Linked DNA regions of Homo sapiens: region 1 is linked to region 2. The links are contacts of gene promoters, found by promoter capture Hi-C in blood cells and fetal thymus (Javierre and others, 2016). All regions are on one chromosome and are shown on one strand. The core of a region is centred on a gene start or on the middle of the fragment in contact, and the rest is flanking DNA. Distances in the headings are between cores, read along the strand shown. Region 1 has its middle 6.8 kb from the start of CD1A. Region 2 holds the start of OR10K1 (olfactory receptor family 10 subfamily K member 1).

Region 1 (2,700 bases), core at 113-2,612, 210 kb after region 2:
TTTCTGTGGGCAGAGCTGATCTTTATCAGAGACGCAGGCAGCAGCTGGTGAGAGCTGTAGTCCTACTGTGGGTCTGCAATTTTCCCAGCCAACTCCACTCCTGAGTGTTCACTCAGCTATGATGGGTACAGGGCAGGATCTGAAGGAGGGAACAGAAGGGAACAGGGCTTCTTGGGAGCTGGCTGGGGGTGCTGAGAAATTGGGGGTGGGGGCTGAGAAAGAGCAGAATGCTAGGGAAAAATCAAGAGATAAAATAGGTAAGGAAGGTGACCAGAACTGGAGAAAAGGAAAATAATTAAGAGAGAAGGGGATGGCTATCACTAATCACTGATAATTTTGTACTCCCTGGACACAGGAAACCCCAGAGAAGCAAACTAGTGTGAATAACATATACCCTGATTAGAACTCAATCAGACAGGTGTCCCAGCTATCCTAGGCAAGTCCATATTCTTCCCTTTGCCACCAAACCTTTCCCCAGGATCCACTTTCTTGAACCATTGGTGTTCAGGCCAAAAGCATGTTCCTGTTCACTGTAGCAGCACTTACCTGTTGCTCCTCCAAACGCAAACATGGCTCCTAAATTCTTCCTTCCCCATTGAAGCTCTCCTCAGAACCCAGATATGAAAGCTCCCCTCCCCACATGGTCTCATCTCATCTGACTTCCTCCTCTTCACTAACAGAAACCTCAATTTCCTGGCCACAGAAACCACTGCCTCTCATAACCACATGCCTTTTCTGGGCTTCTCATTTTCCCTCTCACTCTGCTTCAAGTTTTTCCTTGCCATTCTGGCTTCTGGAAGGACTCGCTTTATCTGCCTGTGTGCTGCTGGCCTCTCACGCACATCTCTTACAGTAAAAGGAGCTGTAGACTGAGTCAAGATGAACCCCCACATGGGACACCTGTTGGAGGTGTTGAATTGGAGAGATCCTTAACACTTTGGCCTCAGTTTCTTTATCTGTAAAATAACTAGATTGAAAGAACTGAATAGTCTCTAATATCACTATGGCTTATTCTTTGTGTCTTACTGTGCTCCTGTTCCTTCCCATACATGTGTTCTTCCTCCACCTTTCTCTCTCTTCTCTGTCTTCACTGTCATCCTCCCTTAGCCTTTATCTCAGCTCCCAGAGCCTCCTCTTCAATTTCTCATACTTCCTATCCATTCAATCTAACCTCAGTCCCTCCTCCTGGACTCACTTTCCTAACCTGAAGCATTGCCTTGTCACATGACCCTTGGATTTCTGTGCGTAACACATAAAACAGCCAGGGATTCTGCTTCTGGAAAGACAGCACACTACATGACCTGCAAAGACATACTAACACAAAACACCCAGAAATGCAAGATTTTTAAAAATTATTTTTAAATGCATAGCTGCATTTACAATGAAATAAAGAAAGCTCTCTAGGGGGCAAAGAAATGGAAACCCAGAAAGGCAAACAGGATCCACACCTGGACATATTAAGCATTGTCTTGTATAGATCCCTAGGAGTTTGGCTACTGTTAGTCACTTGGATCAGGAAACAAGGCCTTAGGATTTAAAAAAAAAAAAATAGGTAATAAGACTTGCAACTGAGGCTTCTGCTATATCCTCACTTCAGTGATAGAATGGACAAATAGAGTAGAAAAAAAATCCATCCAATTATATGGATTGGATTGTTTTTTGGTTTTTCTCCTTCTGAGAATTGCTAATCACAGGTCTGAGTTTGAAGTTCAAAAGTATCTACTTGCATGAGCCTGAAATTCACAAACTAAGAAATTAATTTTAAAAGTAATTCCATGCTGTGCACAGTGGCTCACACCTATAATCCCAGCATTTTGAGAGGCCTAGGCGGGCGGATCACCTGAGTTCAGGAGTTTCAGACCAGCCTGGCCAACATGGCGAAACTTTGTCACTACTAAAAAGACAAAAATTAGCCAGGCGTGGTTGCGCACAACTGTAATCTCAGCTACTCAGGAGGCCTAGGCACGAGAATCTCTTGGGCCCAGGAGGCGGAGGTTGCTGTGAGCCAAGATCGCGCCTCTGCACTCCAGTCTGGGCGACAGAGCAAGTCTCTGTCTCAAAACAAAACAAAACAAAACAAAACAAATGTAATTCCAGGTGTGCCACCTGGTGGAATTTAAAGCAAAGTTATCTCAAGAGAACCACCCTCAATACAAGCTGCAAAGGATATTTCACAAAAAGCCTTTCCTAAGATGAGGTCACCATCCAAACTTAGCACAGGGAGAAAGATTCCATGATGAAGGAAAGTTGGCAGACAGAATAAATAGTTTCATTTCCCTAAGATATCACATATAGAGGAATTTATATTTTAAAACCTTAAAGTCAAAAGGTTTGAAAAGACATTATCAAAAAATATCAAACATATTTTAAAGCAAATTAAACTTCTAGAAATATAAACGCTAATTACTATAAAAACTCAATGAGTAGATTAAACAACAAAGACAGAAAGCAATTTAAAAAGACTTCTAAATTGGGAGAGCTGAAGAATTTCCTCTAATGCAATATAGAGATAAAGAAGTGTTGAATACGAAAGAAGTTAAGATATATGAAAATTAGTATGAAATCCAATATGAGCCCAATAGGAATTTCATTAAAAGACAAAACACACAATTGGAAGAGGAAATATTTAAAGAAAGCATGGCTGAAAATTTTCCAGAAATAATGAAAGACATGAATGTTTAGATTCAGAAAAGGCAAAAG
Region 2 (2,700 bases), core at 109-2,608:
AGGTTTCAGGTCTAGTCTTCTGTGACTTTAGATGAAGTATATACCTTCAATATTTAGTTTTTTTTTTAATTAAAGGGATAGCATAAACAGTAATGGAATAAACTGTTGGGATATGTGGAAGGCACTGAAGCAGAGGATCCCTGAACATTTTACAGAGGAATTTTGACTAAGATAGTATCGGAGTACTATGACCCCTAGGAGCCTTTCTTGCTCAGAGAATCAAAGACTCTCTAGTTAGATGATCTCAAAATCCCCTTAATTGTGATATTTTAGAACGTATGAATAGAATTCAGGCTATGATCCTTGGAGATGCTACTTCAGTGTTTTATTTTTCTAATTCCTCAGATGCTCCACTGGGATTTTATGTAATCTGGATTTAAATAGAAACAAAGTACTTGAGGGTGCTGGGTTCCCCCAAAAGAAGGCAATCTACAGAGTTTTCACGTGTAAAACTTTTAAGAAATATAAATATTTATTTTAAGGAAAACATCAATCAGTTAGCTGAGAGAAATTATGTAAGCAGCTTCAGATAATAAAGGAGTGAAATTTTAACTTCTTAGATACAAATAAAAATCTTTAATTTCTCCAGATTGCCATATTAAAATGGAGTTTAAGTACTAGATTTCAATTATACCTAAAATTATACATCCAGGAGTACACAGCAGAAACAGAAGTAGAAGAGTGAGAGATGAGAGACAAGTGGAGTATCTGTTTCATTTAATCCATGAATCCACCAATGAACAAAAAAGAGAAGTAGAGGAGGAAGGAAGGAAGGAAAGAAGGAAGGGAGGAAGGAAGTAAGGAAGAAAGGAAGGAAGGAAGGAAAAGAAAAAAGAAAATAAAATCTAGCTATGAGTAAGAATGACCCAATATGATCTTCAAGAACAATTCAGATAATTTTTTTTTTTTTTTCAGAAGGAGTCTCACTCTGTTTCCCAGGCTGGAATGCAATGGCACGGTCTCGGCTCACTGCAACTTCTGCCTCCCAGGTTCAAGAAATTCTCCTGCCTCAGCCTCCCAGGTAGCTGGGATTACAGGTGCACGCAACCATGCCTGGCTAATTTTTTTATTTTTAGTAGAGACGGGGTTTCATCATGTTGGCCAGGTTGGTCTCAAACTCCTGACCTCAGGTGATTCACCCATCTTGTCCTCTCAAAGTGTTGGGATTGCAGGGGTGAGCCACTACACCCAGCCAAATTCTGAGAATTATAAAGGCCATTCCCAGTCACTCTTAGTAAGTTCAGTGAAAGGTAGCCTCTGATTCTCCTTTTTAACTCTGCTACTTACCAGAAATGCCATCACTGATCTCCATGGGAGGCACAGAAAGAGGCTTTCTCAAACACTACCCATCATTCAAGTCCAGTCCCCACAAATCCCCAAGCTAGGTCAATGTTCCCACTGCTCGGTAAGTACTTACATTGCTCTCTCCCTTCTAATTTAGAGAGAAGCAGCTATTCAGTATTTGGCAGTCTCCTGACAAGTAGCACCACTGCCACAAATCAGAGCCTGAGGAAATAACAGCAAATGAGAGGGAAGCTGCCTTGAGATAGAAACTCTCATCTGAATCAACAGAGCTAGCCTCCTCCATCTATCAGGACTCCCAGCTTCTCCAGATAAGTCACCATCTTCAGAAGTTCTGATGACCAACGTGGGATGTGGTTATTAGAAGCATGTACTGTAAACACTGGACTCCTGAGGTTAGATCTACTGCACTGGAGCTGTTGTCTTGGGGTTAATTAGGAGTCAAGTTCATTTTGGAAAAAATAATGTCACCAGTTTCTCAAAGGTGGCCTCAGTTGAGGAGCCTGGGGAGTTGAAGTCATGAGCATAATTAGCCCATGTATGCTTTGAAAGTTGAGTCCATTTGAAAGTTGTGATGGATTCTGAAGGAGAGCCCACCACAATTAAGACTGTAATGCAACAGACCAAGTGGAAAATTTTTACTGAATTTTAATCAGAAGACTGATGTATTTGTCCAATGACACTCAACTTCAGTGTTTCTAAGAATCAAAAGAGGGTTGAATGATGTTTTCCAGGGCGCTGCCCCTAGAAACTCTAATTAAGAACATTGAGATGTTTTGCAAAAACCTAAAATTTTAGTAAGTATACTAAATCTAGTTGAGCTCTGTCATCAAACAGTGTGTTATCTTATTAATGCATTTTACCAGAATGACAAAATAATATAGAGTTGTGAATTTTGTTCAAGCTAATCTATAAAGCCAATATAATTCCAACCCAAATCCATGCATAAATTTTGAAGTCACCCTGACAATCAGATTTCCAAAATTTTCATGAAATTATAAAACAATTTTGTAAAGGGCAAGTAATATAGGCCCTCACTCTTCCTAGTAAAAAAAAACTATGCTTTAGTAATAAAAAAGAGCATGCTATTGGTGCAAGAAGAAATAAGTAGTATAGAGACAGAAAGGAGAGCTCAGAAATTAATGTATGTGTATTTGAGAACTTGGTCTTTGGCAGAAGTGACCTCACAAGTCAGTGAGAGAATTATAATTATGTACTAAATAATACTGGGAAGCCTCTGTGTATTCCACCGCTCAGAAGGAGGTGACCTGGTGGAATATGAAACGGTTTACTTGAGGCTCAGTTACTGCACTGGCTCTGTGCCAATACCTAGTACAGCCCCATGTGTCTGCCCAAAGCAGAATATACTCTGAACCAGCAGCCAAAGGATTGTGTTCA

Evidence for each region. The method cuts DNA at HindIII sites, captures the fragments that hold promoters and counts their contacts. A CHiCAGO score of 5 or more calls a contact.
Region 1: a fragment that was not itself captured here is called in contact with the fragment with the promoter of OR10K1 in region 2 in 1 of 17 cell types (fetal thymus); the score reaches 8.6 in fetal thymus.

The regions. Positions count from the first base shown.
Region 1 is chr1:158,246,258-158,248,957 of GRCh38, reverse strand. It overlaps a transcript of CD1A not described here. Among named protein-coding and RNA genes, the nearest start is that of CD1A, 6.8 kb to the left of the region's middle. The HindIII fragment of the contact is 6,630 bases long and covers 1-2,700 here.
Region 2 is chr1:158,460,492-158,463,191 of GRCh38, reverse strand. It overlaps OR10K1 (olfactory receptor family 10 subfamily K member 1), which reads right to left and starts at 1,358. Exons shown (of 2, transcript NM_001004473.2): 1 at 1,288-1,358. It overlaps LOC107985212 (a long non-coding RNA gene), which reads left to right and starts at 421. Exons shown (of 2, transcript XR_001738256.3): 1 at 421-1,021; 2 at 1,442-2,700. The HindIII fragment of the contact is 25,948 bases long and covers 1-2,700 here.